Linked DNA regions of Homo sapiens: all the other regions are linked to region 2. The links are contacts of gene promoters, found by promoter capture Hi-C in blood cells and fetal thymus (Javierre and others, 2016). All regions are on one chromosome and are shown on one strand. The core of a region is centred on a gene start or on the middle of the fragment in contact, and the rest is flanking DNA. Distances in the headings are between cores, read along the strand shown. Region 1 overlaps FLI1 (Fli-1 proto-oncogene, ETS transcription factor). Region 2 holds the start of ETS1 (ETS proto-oncogene 1, transcription factor). Region 3 overlaps FLI1 (Fli-1 proto-oncogene, ETS transcription factor). Region 4 overlaps LOC124902789 (a long non-coding RNA gene).

What was found. The method cuts DNA at HindIII sites, captures the fragments that hold promoters and counts their contacts. A CHiCAGO score of 5 or more calls a contact.
Region 1: a fragment that was not itself captured here is called in contact with the fragment with the promoter of ETS1 in region 2 in 6 of 17 cell types (activated CD4 T cells, total B cells, naive B cells and 3 more); the score reaches 9.1 in activated CD4 T cells.
Region 3: a fragment that was not itself captured here is called in contact with the fragment with the promoter of ETS1 in region 2 in 5 of 17 cell types (activated CD4 T cells, total B cells, naive CD8 T cells and 2 more); the score reaches 11.9 in activated CD4 T cells.
Region 4: a contact is called between a fragment that was not itself captured here and the fragment with the promoter of ETS1 in region 2, in 5 of 17 cell types (total B cells, activated CD4 T cells, naive B cells and 2 more). The highest score is 9.0, in total B cells.

The regions. Positions count from the first base shown.
Region 1 is chr11:128,727,346-128,730,237 of GRCh38, forward strand. All of the region lies in intron 1 of FLI1 (Fli-1 proto-oncogene, ETS transcription factor), which reads left to right. Among named protein-coding and RNA genes, the nearest start is that of SENCR, 33 kb to the left of the region's middle. The HindIII fragment of the contact is 1,275 bases long and covers 625-1,899 here.
Region 2 is chr11:128,586,117-128,588,816 of GRCh38, forward strand. ETS1 (ETS proto-oncogene 1, transcription factor) reads right to left here and starts at 1,442. Exons shown (of 10, transcript NM_001143820.2): 1 at 1,372-1,442. LOC105369565 (a long non-coding RNA gene) reads left to right here. Exons shown (of 5, transcript XR_948163.3): 4 at 224-844. RefSeq lists a silencer at 1,395-1,601. The HindIII fragment of the contact is 9,036 bases long and covers 1-2,700 here.
Region 3 is chr11:128,746,368-128,749,140 of GRCh38, forward strand. All of the region lies in intron 1 of FLI1 (Fli-1 proto-oncogene, ETS transcription factor), which reads left to right. Among named protein-coding and RNA genes, the nearest start is that of SENCR, 52 kb to the left of the region's middle. The HindIII fragment of the contact is 2,032 bases long and covers 362-2,393 here.
Region 4 is chr11:128,425,760-128,428,459 of GRCh38, forward strand. The region is part of intron 1 of LOC124902789 (a long non-coding RNA gene); the gene reads left to right. Among named protein-coding and RNA genes, the nearest start is that of MIR6090, 95 kb to the right of the region's middle. The HindIII fragment of the contact is 3,566 bases long and covers 1-2,700 here.

The sequences.
Region 1 (2,892 bases), core at 12-2,511, 140 kb after region 2:
ATGTATATACTTTATAGCTTATGGATTAGAAAACCAGCGATAGCAAGCCACTTTAAGTCCTCAAGAGGAAGAGTGTAAGGAGTTGGGTGGTCTAGATGCTGATCTCAGCAAGTCAGGCCCTGTTTCAACCTTTCCGTGAGATGCAGGCAGCCAGGACCTGGACAGAGCCCAAGGGCCAGGTCTAGAGTAGTGGTTGCGGAAAGGGCTGATGTATCAGCTTCAAAGGCTGACTTGCTGCAGCCCAAGACCTTGGTACATAGATTTAAGTCCCATCTGATTGAGAAGGAGGTGCATTCAGCCACATGTGTTCATAAACACTTAACAACTGGCTCTCCAGGTTTGTGTAATTTGCACTTATTTCATGATGCCCAGCTTCAAGCTCCCACTGGGCATGCAGTTGAGAAGAGATGCGTGCAACTGGCTCTCAGGAACCTCATGAGCCAGTTCCAGCACACCACTGCATCCAGCCACCCTGTCCCACAACCACAGCCCATCTCAGAGCAAAAGAGGCACCTGTCCTCTATGTCTGACCTAGCTTTGTCTAAGTGGAGAGGTAAGGAGTTAAAGCGGGGAGAAGAGCAGGCATTCCTGCTCTCTTCTCTGTCCCACACCGGCCAGAAGTAAAGCTTCCCTCCCTGACCCACTTCCCCTCAGGCCAGTTCCATACTGACTAGCAAGTTCATTTTCCTCACAAGCTGAAACAAAACAAAACACAAAACGTGGCCCTCTCCCTTGGGCCTTCAGCAGAGTAGCTCCGCTTTAAGAGGAATCACAGGGTGCAGCCCCAAATGCCATGGAGTCTGATAGTGCAGCAGGCCGGGGGCTAACGCTGTCTCCACCCAGCTCACCACGCAGGTGGAGCGGCCAGGACATGGGCATGCCTTGGCCTAGGCAGTGCACTTCCGGATTCCCTTTGGGAGGCAGCAGGGAGGGTCTGGCCTCATCCTTAATGAACTATCTGGCAGAGGCTGTCACAGAACCATGGGACGCCAGAGCCAAAAAGAGCTTAGTAATCACCTGTGTGTCCCTTTGCTGCGCAATGAGGGTGCTGCGGCAGAGGCCGCACCTCTTAGCTGTGTCACCTCTGGAGCTGGACCGCCCTCTCTGGCCTGCTGCTGGTGGTGCTCCTGCGTGTTGACGCTTGGACACTTTTTGAACAACATTTCTTCCATAACTGCAGTGGCCCCTGTGAGTAAAATCTCCCTGAGGCAGGTTCTATGCCTTCTCTTGTCCATTCCCCTTGGGCACCCAGTATGCCCTGAGTGTCCTTGTGACCAGAGCCACTCCTGTTTTGCAGTAAGGGAAGCCAAACAAGGAGCAGAGTCAAGGCAAACGTTCCAGTGCGTTCTGTATTGGGATTCTTCCCTTCAGGCACAGAAATTCTCATTTGCACTCCCCATTTGCCCTGGTGGGCATCCCAGCTGTACCTGAGTATCAGGTAAACCTGCCTTGGCTACATCAAGTCCAGGGATATGATGAACCATCTAGAACTAACCACATTCAATTAGTCCCCTAGCCAAGGGTGGGGTGAAGGAAATGAGAGGAACCTACAACTTTTTGCAACCTCTACTCCAACCGCCAGAGACACACCCTTCTGCCTGATGTTCTTTGACTCAAGGAGTTGAGAACCACTTTGGGTCTACACAGATATGACACAGCTACCCGTGTCTGCCTCGGTTTAGAAAGAGCTGGCTGAGCTCCTGCGTGAATCCTAAAGACAGGACGGTCATTTGAGTTTCAGCTGCAGGGATTCTTCTGCTAGGCACCTCTGCTTTGTAATCGGATGTGTACGAGGGCAACACAAAGGACTCCCAGCCCGGCTCTGCCAAGAGACTTTGTTGTGCTCCATGGTTCAAAGAAAAAAGGTAGGGGGAGAGATTAATGGAGCGAGAGGAGGCAAGCTTATTATATTTATCAACCATGTTCGCATTTCAAGTGCCCTGATTTATCTCACAGGTGGGAGGGAAGAACTGCTGGCAACCCTTCTCTCAGGGCTGTGAGTTTTGGAACAGGATTTCCTCTGCAAGTTGTCAAAGATCAGATAAAAGTCTTAATCTCAGGCACACACAGCCACAGGCTTTGGCCTCTGCCACTGTGTGTTCAGCTTTCAGTGATGAGACTGAACAATGGTTGGCGATGCTTTGCATTTAAAGAGGTGGGAAAAGAAAAGGATCAGAGTGGAGGTATGTGAGGCATATGGCACTGCCCGGGGGAAACACGAGTGCACCAAGCAGGCTCCAGAATGAACTCAGGACTCAGGACAACTGAGGTCCCCTTTTGCTCCCTTTGGTGTCCTTTTACCAGTCGTCATGTACACTAAATCAATGCACATACCTGTCACCCCTTTTTAAAAGGATGGCAACCAGATCATTCACCTCTCCTTCCCCATTCCAAGAGCCCGGTTCTTGAGAACCAGGCTGGAAGAGCATGTCCCAGGTACTGGCTGGTGGGACTGTGGAGATGGGAAGCATTTTGACCTTGTTCTCCAGAATGATTTTTGCTAAAGAGATGCTTATTTTTTCAAAATGCAATTCTATAACTTTAATGCCTTTTCAGAACAGAAGAACTGCACCTTTTAGGCACCATGTTGATTAAGTGGCCCTGTGTTAGGGAGTGCTCTGAGGAAACTATGTTGATCTGGCATTTGACCTTGAAACATTTCTAATATCAGAACACAAAGTTCATTCATGTTGCCAGAGCTAGCCAACTGAGTTAGCAAGGGAAGTTTCAGGAAACAGAAAAGTCGAAAATCTTGAAATCTGGATTCTTTCTGTTCTCAAGTCCCACTCTGATTTGTATATTATCACCACCTTGACTATGCCTACCTTGTATTGTGCATTTGTTAAGTGTGTACTGTGTTAAAAACTTTACTTATATCCTCTCATTCCATCC
Region 2 (2,700 bases), core at 192-2,691:
CAGCAGCGGAACCAGGACGGAAGAGGCTGCATGGATGCCTGAACTGTTTGTTATTTCACTATTGAGTTGGCAAGGATGGAAGTAGTTGATTTACAATTAGAAGCAGCATGCTTCTTCAAATATTAATATTAATAACTGCACTACTGAACACATGAAAAGACCTTTTCATCTTCAAAGCACTTTGCAGACATTAACCCATTAGCTCTCCCTTCCCTCCATTCAGGAACAACAGGTGAGCAAGACTCTCAACAGCAGCAGTGGCCACCCTGCAGCCCTTGTGCACAGCCCACGGCCCCTGAAGAAAAAGCGTTTTCTCTTTGGATAAAAATAGGCCACCAAACCCAAAACCACAACTGATGAAAGAGTTATAGTATCAGTAATTTTACAAATCAAATGGAGCTGATGGAGTTATCATTTTAGAATTGGTATTTCCTGCTGTTTAACAAATACTTTTTTCTCAGTTGCATGGCAGTGGTCTAAAGTAAGAAGGAAAATGGACTTGAGATTAAAAACAAAAACTTACCCAAAAGGTGATAAAGAAATCCTGCAATAGAATGCATTGATTTCAGTGACCCAGCACCCTTTTAAGTTTGCCTGAAGAAAATACTACTTTAAAAGTTGGTAACAGAGACCTTTAACGGTGGGTGAGGAGTCACATACAAAGTGTCACGGCCAGATAAAATCACCGGATGCAGAGGAATTGCCATCGACATCTCCTGCCACTGAGTCCAGCTCTACCGTGGGGACAAGAAATACCTCCCTAACTCTGAGACAACCGCGGCCCACACCCACACCATGTCTCAACAACAGACTTAGGAACTTGTAGATCTTTGGACAACTGCAGGTCAGTCCCAAGACAGAGAAAAACACCAAACAGGCTAGTTTGGCTAGCAAGATTCAAACCTGTAGCAATTTCCTCTCTATTAAAAGCAATTCATTAAACTACTAGCAGGAGAAAAAAGTAAAACAATAGATTTACTAGGAGTGAAAGAGAATAAAAAGAAATTTATATATTTAACTACAGCTTTATTTCTTTGGAAGTGCTCCAATTTGCAAAAAAAAAAAAAAAAAATCAGGGTTTCTGACAAGTAATCTACGGGTATCTAAAACGTGCATGGTTTTACTTTTGTGAAGCAGGGAACATTTTTAAAAACATAGTCTTGCTTTCAGACTATTCTGACGAGGTTAGGAAGTATTTTTGAAAATTGTTAAACAATTAAATGGGAATATAGAAAGACGTGAAAAGAGAAAGAGAAAACTCACTTGTATCCTGAATCTCCCTACCGACTTACTCTTTAATTCCACAGAAATTTTTTTAAAGCAGGAAAAGGAAAATGGACTGAAAAGTTTTAGGCAGAAACTGACACACACCTCACTTACTACTTTGCCGGAGAGCAGATCCTGAGTGAGCTTCCCTCAAAGTCTGTGGTCTCTTTCCAACTACCTGCGGGAATCCTCTGCTCCGTAGCTTAAGAGGATGCAAAGACCATAATGTTTCTAATAGAGCTGCCTCCTTAAATTGGGGGGTGTGGTCAAGCCAGGGAAAGCTGGAAAAAAGGCAGTCTTCCTCTTGCCCCTGGCACCAGGACAGCAGCCACTGGCACAGGCACAGCAGTCTAGGTGGAAAGCACTGTTGATTGACAGTGGTGGCACCAAATCACACATTATTTCGTATTCTTCAAATTGTGCTTCAGCTGAATATAACTCAGCCTTGGAGAGTAACAGGGAGGGAGATGAGCAAAAGGGAACTAGTTCAGTGGGATAACACTGTATCTCACCTCATCATTTGCTGATGCATTTACTCTCTGCTGAATATGTAAATATTCATGCTTCATGTTCCTTGACTTTCTCAATGGAGCCCCCATTAACCTAGGCAAGGTCTCAGGTGAGGGAAAGGGATTGCTTTAGAAACACAGGACGTCCACCACCCAGTCACCTGCTCAGGCTTCCCGTTTCTCTCTAATAACTTGATATGAAATGTGATATTTTCTAAAGAAAAGAAAATAATTTTGTGGAAGAGAGCTGACTGGATATGGACTTGGGATTTCTGAAAAGTAAAGCTAAAAATCCCCTTTTCATATAAGTCTGGTTTTAGGCAATCTCTAAAATAAGGATACTTTTAGCAGCCCTGACTCATGGTCCGTGGTGCAGGAATAAAAGGGCAGAAGTGTTCATACATTTCTCATTTAGGGAAAATGTAAACAATATGAAAATCTTACATCTGTCCTAAGTGAAAATACACAGCATCTTTTATTCACATATTCAGGACTATGGTAAGAATGTTACAGCATAATCTCATTTCTATGAATGGAGTTATTACAATTTTTTTTGAGAAGTCAGTATTTGGCTGCTTAATCTAAGACTTTTATCCTAAAAGATTCCATCTTCTTTGAGTAGGAGGTGGGAGTTAAGATTTGTCATAGTTGGCTTCTTTCTCTTTTTAATAAAGATACAAACTTAGAAAATCCTTGAAAATCTAATAACTGTCATTTGGAGCCATATCATCATCAGCCTTCATTGTATAAAGCTGGCAATGCAGTTAAGATGACATTGTAAGTAAAGCAAGATTTTACTGCTCATCTTCTGCCTTTGCACATTAACTTGGAAGTAAGGAAGAGGTAATGCTATTGGTTCACTTTAGTTTAATAAATTGCCTGTGCCAGGCACTGTTCTAGGCACTAGAAAGATAGCAAGTTTGCA
Region 3 (2,773 bases), core at 128-2,627, 160 kb after region 2:
CCACACTCTTTCCTCTCCTCAAGGCTTAGAAAAACTGCAGAACCTGCCGCCTCCACCCCTGGTGGACAAGCCTCTGCTTCCCCTGTGGGAGCCCATCCTTTAGGATCTGAATGTTCTGACTCCCACCTTCCCTTTGTCACGCAGAGTCCTCTCTTGTCCCTGCAGACCCAGATTGAGATCCTCTTGGTCTAGCTGCCAGGTCAGACCCATAAAGACCAGGCCTCAAGGGACATTCTTAGAAGCCTCTTTCTCAAGCAATAGGAAAGCTCCGGAACTCCATCCTGGCTCCCAGGCTACTATTTCAACCCTGCAGTGGGTGAAATTCACTCCACGAGGAAGCACTGCAGTCACTCCCCACGGAAGCTTTTCTTCCAAACTTTCAGCTCTTGGTGGTCAGGGAAGTCTGACCATTTATCATCATCGGAAAGCATGAAACTTTCAGTAAAGGATGGTTAAAAATGTCCAGGAGCTGGGAGATTAAGTAACTTGCCCAAAGTTGCACAGCCAATAAAGCTCCACATTGACCCAGCTGGTGGCCAGTGCCTTTTGTTAGAACAGATTTAAAGCAGCTGTCCATGAAGGGAAGCAAGCAGTGTGGTGATTGGCTGCCTTTTGACCCCATCTGCAGCCAGGATGGCCAGGGCTCCTCTGCAGGAAGAGGCTGCTCCCAGTGTGGTCCAGATCTTCACCCATCCTCAGGCGGCACCATCACTGGGATCAGGAAACCATTCCCCAGGTCAGGGACAACATTCACATCATGACAATCTGTAAGGCGCGGGCTGCAAGACAGCAGCCCATTGTCTTGAAGCAGGGTTCTGGAGGAGACACGGTGCCCATCACCTGCCCTTTCTTTGTCCCAGAGCAGAGGAGGGAAATGACGAATCTCAGCGCAGCAGCACTTTATCCACCTGTGTGGCTGTGCTGCAGTATTTTTCATGACGGGTACAGCCACTCCAGTGACATCTGGCGGAATAGAGTCCCAGGGAAAAGTATGTGGGACAGCACTTGTGCTGGTGCATCCAGGTGGCCTTCCCAGAAGCAGCCCTCCCTGCAGGTTCTCCCATGCCATGTGGGTTTTGTCGTGGTGGTTGCTGCTTCCATTTTTATCATCCCACCTTTGCTCCAGTGAGGCCTGTATTTAATACTTCCTACCCATCCGGCTAGGTGGGAGAATACTGGCTCCGTCTTACAGAAGAGAACATCTAAGCTGCTTAATGGTAGTAAGTCTCAACATCTCAGTCTGGCTTTGCTTTGCGCTGTCCCTTTGATACTGTGGGACCTACTTTAATGGTCAGGCCACCCCCTACTTTATTCTCTGAGAGGAGCTTCGTCCCGGACGGTCAAGTGTGAAGAATTACACCCAGTAGAGCATTGCCGACCCTTTTGTGGTTCCCACTGCCATCTAGAAAAAGCCACTGGACAGTGGACAGACCCAGTGTAAAGAAACAGAAAGTAAAACACACTGTAAAATGTTCTCTTCGTGGGGTTCAGATGAATGTTCTATCTCCCATCCTGTGAGTTTCCATATTCAGCACTTTTTGCTTTTCAGCAGTAAAAGCATTCTCTGTGGGAGGAGAATTTAACTTTGATCTTTAGAGATGCCCTTTAAATGTGGTTATGGTCAAAAAAGTGACTGTGAACACTCAAAGTCAACAGGCAAAGGTAAATACCACGGGAGACCTGGAGCAGCACTGAACGGGAGGCCCGTGAGGCACAGAAGGCCATGGCTCTGGATTCTGTTACAGGGTACAGTCCTGGGAGGATGCAGAGATCCTCTTCTCTGTGCTCACTTAGGCTATACCCTTCATTTGTAAAACACCATTAAATAAAGTACTTTCGTCTGCAAATAATTGCAATTGCATCTTCTAGGAATTCTTTCTCTGGGTCATCCACTGCTGAGCCCCCTCCCCAGGAAGTGGAATTGTAAGTGAAAGGGGAAAGGCACTTGGGAGGGGGAATGATGTTCAACAAGACTCCTTGAAAAGTCAGCCGGGGTCCAGGCACGGTGGCTCACACCTGTAATCCCAGCACTTTGGGAGGCCGAGGCAGGTGGGTCACCTGAGGTCAGGAGTTTGAGACCAGCCTGACCAACATGGTGAAACCCTGTCTCTACTAATTAGATGGGCGTGGTGGTGGGCGCCTGTAATCCCAGCTACTCAGGAGGCTGAGGCAGGAGAATTACTTGACCCTGGGAGGCAGAGGTTGCGGTAAGCTGAGATCGCGCCTCTGCACTCCAGCCTGGGCGACAAGAGTGAAACTCTGTCTCAAAAAAAAAAAGAAAGAAAGAAAAGAAAAGTCAGCCGGACACTCTGAAGCTCTGTGGCAGATTTGGCTGTGTGCTACGGCCTAAAATTGGAGACGGCAAAGTGGAAACGGTTTAGGGGAGGAGTAGAAGCTTTGCAGTCAGGCCAGCAGCATGGAGACTCATGAGGTGAGGGGCCAGAGGCAAGTAGCAAACCTCTTTAAGCCTCAATTTTCTTTTCAATAATATGAGGATCCTAACTCATATTTTAAAAGGTTAAATGAGGTGATGATAGTAAAAGTTCCTTGGAAACTTCAAGTCATCAAATAATACATGTTCTATTTGATCGTTCTCATTTAAAAATGTGGTCCTTGTTTGGTTTTTGTCTGTTGTTTATTTTGTTTTTGTCGTTTGGAGATAATTCCACTATGTGTCTATCAGAGGACTTAGACTTTAATTCTGAGATCGATTCCCCCCTCACTGTGTGAACCTAGAAGGGTTATGCTTTGTGCCTCAGTTTCCCCACCTGGA
Region 4 (2,700 bases), core at 87-2,586, 160 kb before region 2:
GGCCATCCTAGCTAACATGGTGAAACTCTGTCTCTACTAAAAATACAAAAAATTAGCCAGGAGTGGTGGCGCACGCCTGTAGTCTCAGCTACTCAGGAGGCTGAGGCAGGAGAATCGCTTGAACTCAGGAGGCAGAGGTTGCAGTGAACTGAGATCACGCCATTGCACTCCAGCCTGGGCGACAGAGCAAGACTCCGTCTCAAAAACAAACAAACAAACAAACAAAAACAAAAACTCAACTCATGCCCTGGTCCACTGGTGGATCTGCTCTGACCACCCACCCTGCCAGGCCCTCTCTCTGCCTTCCAGTGTGCTCTGTGCAGGAGTGTCAGCCTGCTCTTCTCTTCTCAGGGAGACCCCCACCCCCTATTGTCAAGTCTTCTGTCTCAGCACAAGTCACCTCCTCAGCAGGGAACCATGAATCTAAAGCTGCTGTGTTCCCCACCCCGGGACTCTCTAGCCCATTTTCTGTGTAGTATTCTTTTTTCCTTTCTTTCTTTTTTATTATACTTTAAGTTCTAGGGTACATGTGCACAACATGCAGGTTTCTTACATATGTATACATGTGCCATATTGGTTTGCTGCACCCATGAACTCGTCATTTACATTAGGTATTTCTCCTAATGCTATCCCTCCCCCAGCTCACCACCCCACGACAGGCCCCAGTGTGTGATGTTCCCCACCCTGTGTCCAAGCGTTCTCATTGTTGAGTTCCTACCTGTGAGTGAGAACATGCGGTGTTTGGTTTTCTGTCCTTGTGATAGTTTGCTGAGATTGATGGTTTCCAGCTTCATCCATGTCCCTGCAAAGGACATGAACTCATCATTTTTTATGGCTGCATAGTATTCTATGGTGTATATGTGCCACATTTTCTTAATTCCGTCTATCATTGATGGACATTTGGGTTGGTTCCAAGTCTTTGCTATTGTGAACAGTGCTGCAATAAACATACATGTGCATGTGTCTTTATAGTAGCATGATTTATGATCTTTGGGATCACTGGGTCAAATGGTATTTCTAGTTCTAGATCCTTGAGGAATTGCCACACTGTCTTCCACAATGGTTGAAATAATTTACACTCCCACCAACAGCATAAAAGCGTTCCTATTTCTCTACATCCTCTCAAGCGTCTGTTGTTTCCTGACTTTTTAATGATCGCCATTCTAACTGGCATGAGATGGTATCTCATTGTGGTTTTGATTTGCATTTCTCTGATGACCAGTGATGGTGAGCATTTTTTCTTGTGTCTGTTGGCTGCATAAATGTCTTCTTTTGAGAAGCATCTGTTCATATCCTTCGCCCACTTTTTGATGGGGTTGTTCGTTTTTTTCTTGTAAATTTGTTTGAGTTCATTGTAGATTCTGGATATTAGCCCTTTGTCAGATGAGTAGACTGCAAAATTTTCTCCCATTCTGTAGATTGCCTGTTCACTCTGATGGTAGTTTCTTTTGCTGTGCAGAAGTGCTTTAGTTTAATTAGATCCCATTTGTCTATTTTGGCTTTTGTCATCATTGCTTTTTGTATTAGTCATGAAGTCCTTGCCCGTGCCTATGTCCTGAATGGTATTGCCTAGGTTTTCTTCTAGGGTTTTTATGGTTTTAGGTCTAACATTTAAGTCTTTAATCCATCTTGAATTAATGTTTGTATCAGGTGTAAGGAAGGGATCCAGTTTCATCTTTCTACATATGGCTAGCCAGTTTTCCCAGCACCATTTATTAAATAAGTGCTTATTATTTGAGACAGAGTCTCGCTCTCTTGTCCAGGTTGGCGTGCAGTGGCACGATCTCCATTTCCTCACTGCAAGCTCCACTTCCCCAGTTCAAGCAATTCTCCTGCCTCAGCCTCTCGAGTAGCTGGGATTACAGGCACCCACCATCACACCGAGATAATTTTTTGTATTTTTAGTAGAGCCAGGGTTTTACTATGTTGGCCAGGCTGGTCTCAAACTCCTGACCTCAAATGATCCACCTGCCTGGGCCTCCCAAAGTGCTGGGATTACAGGTGTGAGCCACCAAACCCAGCCAATTTGCTCTGCAATATTCATTAATGTCTAAAATTATCTTAATTATTTTTGTGATTTTTTTGTCTGTCTCTCCCAGGAGTAAGTAGGTCCCAGGAGAGCAAAAATCTTGTTTCTTTCAGTTTCTAGAACAGTGTCTTGCACACAGTAGGCACCATATGTATATATATGTTTTATTAAAGTATTTAATGTGGTATCTAGTAAATATTAGCTGCTTATGTTATTAAGTAATAACAATTAACGTATATTATTATTTAAAAACATACTACTATGGTTTTTTGTTTGTTTGCTTTTTTTTTTTTAAGTTCTGGGATACATGTGCCGTACGTGCAGGTTTGTTACACAGGTATACATGTATCATGGTGGTTTGCTGCACCTATTAACCCATCCTCTAGGTTTGAAGCCCCACGTGCATTAGATATTTGGCCTAATGCTCTTGCTCCCCTTTCCCCTCACCCCCCGACAGGCCTGGTGTGTGATGTTCCCCTCCCTGTGTCCATGTGTTCTCATCGTTCAACTCCCACTTATGAGTGATAATGTGCAGTGTTTGGTTTTCTGTTCCTATGTTAGTTTGCTGAGGATGATGGTTTCCAGCTTCATCCATGTCCCTGCAAATAATATGAACTCATTCTTTTTTATGGCTGCATAATATTCCACAGTGTGTATGTGCACATTTTCTT